2 separate regions of the Homo sapiens genome follow, and region 1 is linked to region 2. Evidence: promoter capture Hi-C in human tissues and cell types (Jung and others, 2019). All regions are on one chromosome and are shown on one strand. The core of a region is centred on a gene start or on the middle of the fragment in contact, and the rest is flanking DNA. Distances in the headings are between cores, read along the strand shown.

Evidence for each region. Contacts are between HindIII fragments. The study calls those that stand out against the background at their distance.
Region 1: a contact is called between a fragment that was not itself captured here and the fragment with the promoter of SPSB1 in region 2, in 5 of the 25 tissues and cell types used here (bladder, dorsolateral prefrontal cortex, heart right ventricle and 2 more).

What each region holds. Positions count from the first base shown.
Region 1 is chr1:9,408,060-9,413,424 of GRCh38, forward strand. No RefSeq gene overlaps it. Among named protein-coding and RNA genes, the nearest start is that of LINC02606, 18 kb to the right of the region's middle. RefSeq lists an enhancer at 4,547-5,365. The HindIII fragment of the contact is 3,343 bases long and covers 1-3,087 here.
Region 2 is chr1:9,289,391-9,294,476 of GRCh38, forward strand. SPSB1 (splA/ryanodine receptor domain and SOCS box containing 1) reads left to right here and starts at 3,504. Exons shown (of 3, transcript NM_025106.4): 1 at 3,504-3,681. RefSeq lists silencers at 3,169-3,338, 3,389-3,468, 3,539-3,608, 4,149-4,438. The HindIII fragment of the contact is 10,751 bases long and covers 716-5,086 here.

The DNA.
Region 1 (5,365 bases), core at 166-2,665, 120 kb after region 2:
CAAGGCAGGCAGATCACGAGGTCGGGAGTTCGAGACCAGCCTGGCCAATATGGTGAAACCCCATCTCTACTAAAAATACAAAAATTAGCCGGGCATGGTGGCATGCGCCTGTAATCCCAGCTGCTCAGGAGGCTGAGGCAGAGGAATTGCTTGAACCCGGGAGGAGGAGGTTGTAGTGAGCCGAGATCATGCCACTGAACTCCAGCCTGGGTGACAGAGCGAGATTTAGTCTCAGAAAAAAAAAAAAAAGAACTAGTTTCCACCTCAACTCAGACACACATGTCGCCTTTCCAAAGGGTTCCAGCCACAGGGCCATCGCTGAGCTGACATCGTGGAGCCCTGTCTCTGTGGTAAGAATTTTCACATCCATGGCCACATTCTGTGCTGTGCGGGGTAAATGCTGAACAACCAGCTATCTGGAGGGCAGGTTGGGGTGGGGGAGAGTACACATACATATGTGAACATAGAGTATAAATCCTACCACAAATAAGTGCTTGATTACTACCTGACCCAACAAAAGAAATAGCTCATAGTTTTTTTTGGTTTTTGTTTTGTTTTGTTTTGTTTTTTTTGAGATGGAGTCTTGCTGTGTCACCCAGACTGGAGTGCAATGGCGTAATCTCAGCTCACTGCAACCTCCACCTCCCGGGTTCAAGCAATTCTCCTGCCTCAGCCTCCTGAGTAGCTGGGATTACAGGCGCCCAACACCACACCCGGCTAATTTTTGTATTTTTAGTAGAGATGGGGTTTCACCATGTTGGTCAGGCTGGTCTCAAACTCCTGACCTCGTGATCCACCCACCTCGGCCTCCCAAAGTGCTGGGATTACAGGCGTGAGCCACTGAGCCTGGCCCAGAAATAGCTCATGGTATTGATGAGTGAGTGTGATTCTAATATGAGGGTTGATTGGCATTTTCATGTATGTCAATGAGTAAGAAACAGTGAAACAAAAAAGACATTCGGCAGGCCCTTTAAATCTGTGGATTTCACATTTATGGATTCAACTAACCATGGATCTAAAATATTCATTCAAAAAAAATGGACGGTTGCATCTGTACCAAACATGTACAGACTTCTTATTTTTGTCATTATTTCCTAAACAATACAGTATAACAACTATTTACACCGCATTTACATTGTATTAGGTATTATAAGTAGTGTAGAAATGATTTCAGATATACGAGAGGATATGTGTAGGTTATATGCAACTACTACACCAATTTATATAAGGGATTTGAGCATTCGTGGATTTTGGTATCCAAGGGAGGGTCCTGAAACTAATGGGTCCAGATGGGACAACAAGGGCTCAGGGAAGGAAGGTAAGTGGTTGCCCAAGATTGAAGCTTATAAATGTCAGGATCTGAGGTCGGGAGTTCAAAACCAGCCTGACCAACATGGAGAAACCCCGTCTCTACTAAAAATACAAAATCAGCCGGGCGTGGTGGTGCGTACCTGTAATCCCAGCTACTTGGGAGGCTGAGGCAAGATAATTTCTTGAACCCGGGAGGTGGAAGTTGCGGTGAGCCTAGATTGCGCCGCTGCACTTCAGCCTGGTGACAGAGTGAGACTCCGTCTCAAAATAAAAAAATAAATAAATAAATGTCACAGCCAGGGTTTGAACTCACACCTGGAGCCTATGCTTCCAAACTCTCGGCCTGCAACTTGCCAGGGCCCAGCTTGCCCTTTGGTGGGTGGGAGTGATAGAGTTGGAGGCCCCATCCTGTTCAGGTCCAGCTCCAAACCTCACAGGCCTGGCCTGACACCTCCACTGTTCTGTGTCCTCCAGGTCCTGGGCTCCTTCTTCCACCTGGGTGGCTGGGTCTGGGATACCAAGGGACAACTATATATTGGAACTTTACTTTTTTTTGCTAAATTGGATAACAGCTTTGAATACTGGGAGAATAGTTCCTTATCTTTTGTACTATTCACAATGTTATTGCTAGAAGTACAATTCACTTTCAAGTTTAATTTGCAATATTAACTTTTTGTTTTGGAGTCTCACTCTGTGGCCCAAGCTGGAGTGCAGTGGCACAATCTCGGCTCAGTGCAACCTCCACCTCCTGGGTTCAAGTGATTCTCCTGCCTCAGCCTCTCAAGTAGCTGGGGTTACAGGTATGCGACACCACACCAAGCTAATTTTTGTATTTTTAGTAGAGACAGGGTTTCATCATGTTGGCCAGGCTGGTCCTGAACTCCTGACCTCAGTGATCTGCCCACCTCGGCCTCCCAAATGCTGAGATTACAGGTGTGAGCCACCGTGCCTGGCCAATATTAACATTTTCTCCATTGCTTTCTTAAATCTAGAAAATCAACAAAAGAGTAAAGAAAGCCCTGGCTGAGAGCATTTGCCCATTTCTGTGGTGTAAATACTCCCAGCGCAGTTGGTTTTGAGGTCCCAGAGTGACATTGTTGAATGTGGAGTTGGGAAGAGGTGTTCAGTAGCCACCATTACTAGCACTTCCACAAGGCAGAGACCATGGATATAAATAACCTCAGGGCATAGGTAAAATGTAGTAAGATAATTAGGAAGCCAGGAGTCTTGAGTCTTTAGAGCTTTGTTTTTAATATAATTTATTTAATCGTAAGTGTATAGAACTTAATTGTTAATGATGGCTGTATTTACAAACTGGCTCCAATGATTTCTGAAAATCATCAGTCAACCCTCCTGAGTCAGTACAAGTCAGCTCCACCGTGCCGTGAACCCATTCCCCTACAGCTCTATAGGAAAGGTCTTACTAGCTCTATTTTACAGCTCAGGAAGCTGAGGCTCAAAGGCCACAGAGCAAGGCCTTGAGTGCAGGAGGGCTTAATGCTGAGATGATTGGAGTCCTGCACAAGTTACTTAAGTCGGGTAGCGTGAGCAGAAACTGAACCACAAGTGTGTTTGGGGATTTGTGGTGTCAGGAAACACTTAAGATACTTCTCTACCAGTCTGGTCTGGCCTCCAGATAGCACAGTCCCTGCTTGTATAATGCAGTAGAATAAAGTTGCAACAGTCGGCCTGCAAAAGAAGATAACGTGGTGGCAGAAAGCCCTTTGACCAGGACACTACCACACTACCATAACACCACACCACCACACTACCAGAACACCACACTACCACACCACCACAACACCACACCACCACACTACCACACCACCACAACACCACACCACAACACCACACTACCACACCACACTACCATAACACCACAATACCACACTACCACAACACCACAACACCACACGACCACACCACCACACTACCATAACACAATGTAGGAGAGACCTGCCCACCTCTCTCTTTTCTTTTCTTTTCTTTCTTTCTTTTTTTTTTTTTTTGAGACAGAGTTTCACTCTTGTTGCCCAGGCTGGAGTGCAATGGCATAATCTCGGCTCACTGCAACCTTCACCTCCCAGGTTCAAGCGATTCTCCTGCCTCAGCCTCCCAAGTAGCTGGGATTACAGGCATGAGCCACCACACCCGGCTAATTTTGTATTTTTAGTAGAGATGGGGTTTCACTATGTTAGTCAGACTAGTCTTGAACTCCCAACCTCAGGTGATCCACCCGCCTCAGCCTCCCAAAGTGCTGGGATTACAGGCATGAGCCAGCGCACCTGGCCTTTTTCTTTTTTTTCCTTTCTTTCTTTTTTTTTTTTTTTTTTTTTTTTTTAGACAGGGTCTTCCCCTGTTGCCCAGGCTGGAGTACAGTGGTGCAATCTCAGCTCACTGCAACCTCTGCCTCCCAGGCTTAAGCGATCCTCTCACCTCACCTCCCAAGCACCCTGGACTACAGGCAAACTACAGTTTGGCTCTGTGTCCCCACCCAAATCTCATCTTGTAACTCCTACGATTCCCACGTGTTGTGGGAGAGACCCGGTGGGGGGTGATTAAATCATAGGGCAGGTCTTGCTCGTACTGTTCTCGTGACGGTGAATGGGTCTCATGAGATCTGATGGTTTTAAAAAGAGGAGTTCCCCTGCACAAGTTCTGTCTTTTTGCCTGCCGCCATCCATGTAAGATGGGACATGCTCCTCCTTGCCTTCTGCCATGACTGTGAGGCCCCCCCAGCCACATGGAACTATAAGCCCAATTAAACCTCTTTCTTTTGTAAATTGCCCAGTCTTGGGTATGTCTTTATCAGCAGCGTGAAAATGGACTAATACAACTTCTAATATTAAACATTAAAATAGGCGGGGCATGGTGGCTCATGCCTATAATCCCAGCACTTTGGAAGGCTGAGGTGGGCGGATCACAAGGTCAGGAGTTCAAGACCAGCCTGGCCAACATGGTGAAACCCCACCTCTACTAAAAATACAAAAATTAGCCAGGCACAGTGGCAGGCACCTGTAATCCCAGCTACTCGGGAGGCTGAGGCACGATAATCGCTTGAACCCGGGAGGTGGAGGTTGCAGTGAGCCGAGATCACGCCACTGCACTCCAGCCTGGGTGACAGAGCAAAACTCTCAAAAAAAAAAAAAAAAGGTGGAGTGGGAGAGGTGGCTCAGGCCTTCACCTTGGCAAGCAGCCAGCTTGTGGGCTCAGCCATCAATTCTGGGGCACCTTGGTGTCTGAGGCCTCCTCAAACCATTAACAATGGTTTTAAAAGTACCATCTCAACCTAAAATAAATGTCTAATGGATTCAAGGGGACATTGCTAAAGAAAGTCATCTTACATTCCAACACACCGGCCCGGTCATGAGACCAGGTCTGCAAAACGTTGTTCTCCTCCCCTTAGACATGAGAGAGACAGAAACAAAGTCTGGGGCGGCGGGTGAGGGATGGGGTGACCAAAAAAAGTACTTATTCCACACACAGTGGATGTTTAGCAGATGTTTTTTGGATAGACTTAAGCTTTTAGACAATGAAACAAAAATAATTCTTCCCATCATCACAAAATAAAAATGTGACCACATCCCTCTACCACGTCCCCTTGGGGCTTGGGAAGAGCGTCTGTCCCATAAATCCTCCAATGGGCCTTTTGTGTGCCAGGCACCGTGCTGGGCACTGGAGCACACTTACAAGGGCAGCCCCTGGGCGCCTGCTCCTCCTGCTCTGGTCCCCAGCCCAGCCCCCCCCGCAGCCCTGTCCTCACCCTGACCCAGCAGGGAGGGCCTCGCTGGCCTGACCTGTTTTGCCTTCTAAGTGGAAACAAGCCGCTGAGCTACAAGGGAAAGTCGGCTCTGGGCAAAGCCCAGTGACTCTCGGCTCATGCTCACCTCTGACCAAGAAAGAAACACAGCTGTGGTTATCAGAAAGCTGCTGAGAGCTCAGGATGGTGGGGGTGGGGCGGAGGCTGGGAGGAGGAGGGCGGGTGTAGGGGGAATAGAGAAGCTCTGAATCACAGAATCTTATTCTTGGGGGCAGATGTGGCCACAAGCTGGGA
Region 2 (5,086 bases), core at 2,254-4,753:
AAGACCAGCCTGGGCAACATGGTAAGACCCTGCCTCTATTTTTTTTTTTTAATTAACATATAAACACTCTACTTCTGTTTTGCATCATGAGATAAGTACACATCTTATGCTAAGGATGCATAATAGATGTAGATTTTATTAATATGCTTCAGTGTTCTTCATGTTCTGGTGGATCTTGCTACAATTCTGTGTTGTGGATACCAAGCTTTTCTTTAAAAAAAAAACCTATTATCTTGAAAATTCTCAAAATCCTTGATTTCATTCTAGCACAATTAATTGTGTTCAGTTAATGTTGGTTGAATGATTGCACCACCTCCCCAGTTTCTGGGGAAATGTGTAGAGCAGTTCTACAGATGAGAACAGGAAATCTCAGAAAGGTTAAGTAACTTGCTCAAGGTCACACAGCTGATGAATAGCAGAGCTGGGGGTTGCATTGGGTTTGTCTATTACCAAATCCTTTGCACATTTGCTCCAATCAGCAAAAGGGATTCAGAGAAGATGGCAGCCTTTAACACTTGTGAGGGCAGCAGGATTCTGTGCTAAGAGCTCAAGGCTCAGAACCATCATCAGAAAAAGCAGCTGATGCTAATTCACCATCTATCAAGTTTCTCTTCACCATTTCCCGGAGACAGATTAAAGACATGAGCAAATTGTGCTGATGCAAGTGATAAAATGTGTGTGGGGGTGGGGTGGAGTTGGGGAGGGGGTTGGGGATGACACCACTGGGAGCCCAGAGCCACCTCCCTCCCGACTCACCCCTGCAGTACACAGATCTTTGTATAAGTCCTGAGTCACCCTTCAAATTTTTGGATAGTATCTATCAGCTTATGTCACAATGTTGCAAGATTATGTATCTTTTTTTAACAAACAATAGTATCAGCATGCTAGGGTGATTCTGAGCCCTTCTGACACATAAACTGGCTTCCAGGATTGCTCAACATTGCCCCATGCTGCAGCAGTCACTGCCGGCTGACCAGCCTTCCATCATCCGGCCAACCTGCCCAGCGTCCTGGAGGAGAGAAGGCCCACTCCCCAGGGGTTCTTCTGGGAAATTTAGGTCAGCAGGGTCTAATTATTCAACTGGATCAAGAGCTGAGATTTCCAGATTAACGCCGAAGGGGGGTGGGGTGGGGGTGCTGAAGACTTTTCATCAGGAACTGTCTTTCAGGGCCTTAAACATCAAAGCTGGGTCTCTAGCTCCAAAGTGCCCCAGTCTGCCCTGGAAGCTTCCCAGATGTTAAGAGGTGAGGCTTGGTGGAGTTCCTCTTAGCAAAGCTGACAACACCATGGCCCCAGGCCACGTGGCCGTAGCACCAGCCCCATGAGATGCCAGTGTCTGGTAGATGCCACACACACAGTGAATAATCCACCAAACAGGGCTACTCTCCCAAGGAGAAATGAACCCATCAGAGGCAGCTGTGATTTTCAGCAATGACTGACGTGGGCTGCACCCCATGGGCCTGTCCCAGAGGCTCTCACCAGTCTCCCAAGTAAACAACAGTTCTCAAACTGCAGAGTGGCTGGAGGGGGTCATATGCTCTTTTAAAATTATTATTACCTTTTTTTTCTTTTTTTTTGAGATGGAGTCTCGCTCTGTTGCCCAGGCTGGAGTGCAGTGGTGCGATGTCGGCTCACTGCAACCTCTGCCTCCTGGGTTCAAGAGATTCTCCTGCCTCAGCCTCCCGAGTAGCTGGGATCGCAGGCACGTACCACCACACCCAGCTAATTTTTGCATTTTCAGTAGAGATGGAGTGTTGCCATGTTGGCCAGGCTGGTCCTGAACTTCTTTTTTTTTTTTTTTTTTTTTTTTTGTGAGACGGAGTCTCGCTCTGTCACCTGGGCTGGAGTGCAGTGGCGCAATCTCGGCTCACTGCAATCTCTGCCTCCCGGGTTCACACCATTCTCCTGCCTCAGCCTCCCAAGTAGCTGGGACTTACAGATGCCCGCCACCACGCCTGGCTAATTTTTTATATTTGTAGTAGTGACGGGTTTCATCGTGTTAGCCAGGATGGTCTCCATCTCCTGACCTCGTGATCCGCCCGCCTCGACCTCCCAAAGTGCTGGGATTACAGGTGTGAGCCACCAAGCCCAGCCTGGTCCTGAACTTCTGACCTCAGGTGATCCACCTGCCTCAGCCTCCCAAAGCGCTGGGATTACAGGTGTGAGCCATCATGCCCGGCCAATTATTATTATTATTATTTAATTTTTGTGCAGAGTCTGTGTCTTGCTCTGTTGCCCGGGCTGCTCTTGAACTCCTGGGCTTAAGTGATCTGCCTGCCTCAGCCACCCAAAGTGTGGGGATTAAGGGCGTGAGAGCCACCACCTCCAGCCTCAAGTGATCTTTTAAATGGGAAGCACCCCTAAGCTGCTGGCCATGGCTGCCCACCTGACTAGTCTGGGTTCAACATTCCTAAACCGCTGGCACCTGGAAAGTCAGAATGCCCACTCAGGCCCGCCCAGCCCAGGGCAGTTGGTTGAGTCTCCGTAATCCTATTCTGAGTTCAAACAAAGCTAAACCAAACTGATTTTCAGCACCGTAAAATGAGAGACATCAAACTTTGTAATCTCACAGTTCAATTGGGTTCCAAGCTCTGGACAGCTGGCCTCGGGCCAGGCACTGTTTCCTCGCCTTTACAGTGAGTGTGTCATTAGTCCCACCCTCACTGTACTGGGTTATGGTAAAGACACAGTAACTACGGAAGCCCCGCTATTTGTTTCGGCTCCCCCAGAAAGGCTAACTCCTCACCGTTTTCAATGGACACTACACAGCGAGGGGTGGGGAATGCCAGGAGATTTTGCTCTCAAAACAGCAAAGTCTTTAAAATCTTCCCAGTCCCAAGTGACTGCTCTGTTCGGGGAAGGGGGAGGAAAATTCCTTGAACGAGCTAGAGCCACAGGACAAGTCCCCAGAGGCTGGGACCTGTTCAGGGAGCAGCCCTGCGGATGCCAGGTGCCCGCGCCCTCAGGGTCTCGAGGTCCGAGGCCCCCGTCCCCGTGGGCACCGAAACGCGAGCGGCCGAAACAGCGCTGCAGGAGGCTCCCTGGACCCCCGGCGGCTGCCCACTCGTCCCCGCTGGGCACTTCAGAGGAGGCCGGCGAGGCCTTGCTCGGGGTTCCTGGGACAACCCCACTCTCCGCGAAGATTTCTCCTTCTCGTAAGACCCCCGCCCCCACTCCAGCCTCCCACGGCTGCAACCCAGGCCCTGCGCCACGCGTTTCCCAAAGACGCCTCCGGAGGGACCCGAGCTTCGGGCCGGCAACACCAGGGCGGCGGCTCGGGAGAGGGCTGCGGACTAAGGGGGCGGAGGGGGCGGCCGAACCAGCGCCGGGCTGACGCGCCCCGCGCCCCGCGCCCCGCGCCCCCGGCCTTCCCTGCAGTGCTGAGTGGTCCGTGCGCCCGAGGTCGGGGGCGGGGCGGGGCGGGGCGGGGCAGGGACGGCCCCGCCCACCGGCGCTTTTCTCTTTTTTTTCACTTTAAAGCCGTCGGTTGCTTTTTCTCCTCCGCACAGAAGTCGCGCTCGGGCAGCCTGCGCGCTCGCAGCAGGAACCAGGCTCCAGGCGCCGGCGCCGGGGCCGGGGCCGCGGGGAGGAGGCGACTTCGCTCCCTGCGGCGGGCGCGGCCCGGGCGCCCGAGCCTCCTCGGCCTTGGAGAGCAGCGGCGGCGGCGGCACCCCGGGCGCGGTAGGCGGCGCGGGGCACCTGGGACCCCGATGGGTGGGCGACCGGCCCGGGAGGGGGAGGCGCGGGGGGCCGGGCGAGGGCGGACGCGGGGATCGCGCCGCTGGGGGACCGAGTGGGTGGCGCGGGGCCGGGCGCGGGGGAGCGGGTGGAGTACGGGATGGGGACTCGGGGCGCGGCCCCTCCCGCGGTGGCTCCGGGGGCGCCTCCCTCGCCGCGGCTCCTGGGAGAGGGGCCCAGGCCCGCCCCGCGCTGCCGCCGCTGCAGGGCAGGGGGTCCCGGGGCGAGGCGCGGCGGGGGTCTCGGGGCGCGGGGACCGTCGCAACGAGTTGCGGTCCCGAGGAGGGGCTGGGGCGCTCCGGGGCCGCCGACCCGTCCCCCCTTTAGCCCGGGGAAAGCGGGACCCCGCTCGGCTGAGTTAGTTTCGCTTTTCCCGCCAGTCCGAGTCGGGATTGGCGGCGCGGCCCGGTCCCCCGTCGGGGCGCCCCCACCCTCCCGCAGCGCCTCCCCCAGGGAGCCTGCCGGGGACACCCGAGCGCCGCCCTCCCCGCCGCCCCGGAGCCGCCGCGGCTTCTCCCAGCAGCGGAGGGAGAGCCGGAGGGTTGTCAGGAAATCGATTAAATCAGAAAAACAAGGGCGGCCTGGGCCCGCGGGAGGAACCGCGGATGGGTCACCGTCCCCGGGCGTGTACTGGGCTCGGTGGCGTCCAGGTTCCGGTGAGGACGGGACGGCCCCGAGAGGAGGGTGCGGGTCTGCAGGAAGAGCGGGTGTCTCTGAGAGTGCATCTGCGTGTGTGTTTGTGCATGTCCTTGTGAATATGTGCCTGCGTATGAGTGTGTCTGTGTGTTCATGTGGGTGTGTGTGTGAGTGTGTCTCTAAGTGCATCTGTGTATTTATGTGCCTCTGAGTGTGTGTGTGAGTCTGTGTGTCTGTCAATGTGTGCCTGAGACTCTAAGTGACTGTGTGTGTGTGTGTGTGTCTGAGTGCGTCTTTGTGTATTTGTGTGTGCCTCTCTGTGTATGTCTGTGTGTCTTTGTGTGTGTCTGTGTGTGAGTGTGTATGTGTCTTTGGGTGTGTGTCTCTGCAAGTTTGTGTCTCTGAGTGTCTGTCTCTGCAAATGTGTGTCTCTGTGTCTTTGTGTCTGTGTGTGTCTTTGCGTGTGTGTGTCTTTGTGTCTCTTTGTGTGTCCACACGTGTCTCTGTGTCTGTCTCTGTGTCTGTGTCTCTGAGTGCGTCTGTGTATGTGTGAGTGTCTGTGTGTCTCCAAGTGTGTGTCTGTGTGTCTTTGTGTGTGTTTCTCTGTGAGTGTGTGTGGGGACCATCCAGGGGGCCCTCTGGTTCCTAGGTACTGCTCCTCATGGTGATTTCTTTACTTGGTTCTGGATAGCCGGGCATGCTGGGCCACAGA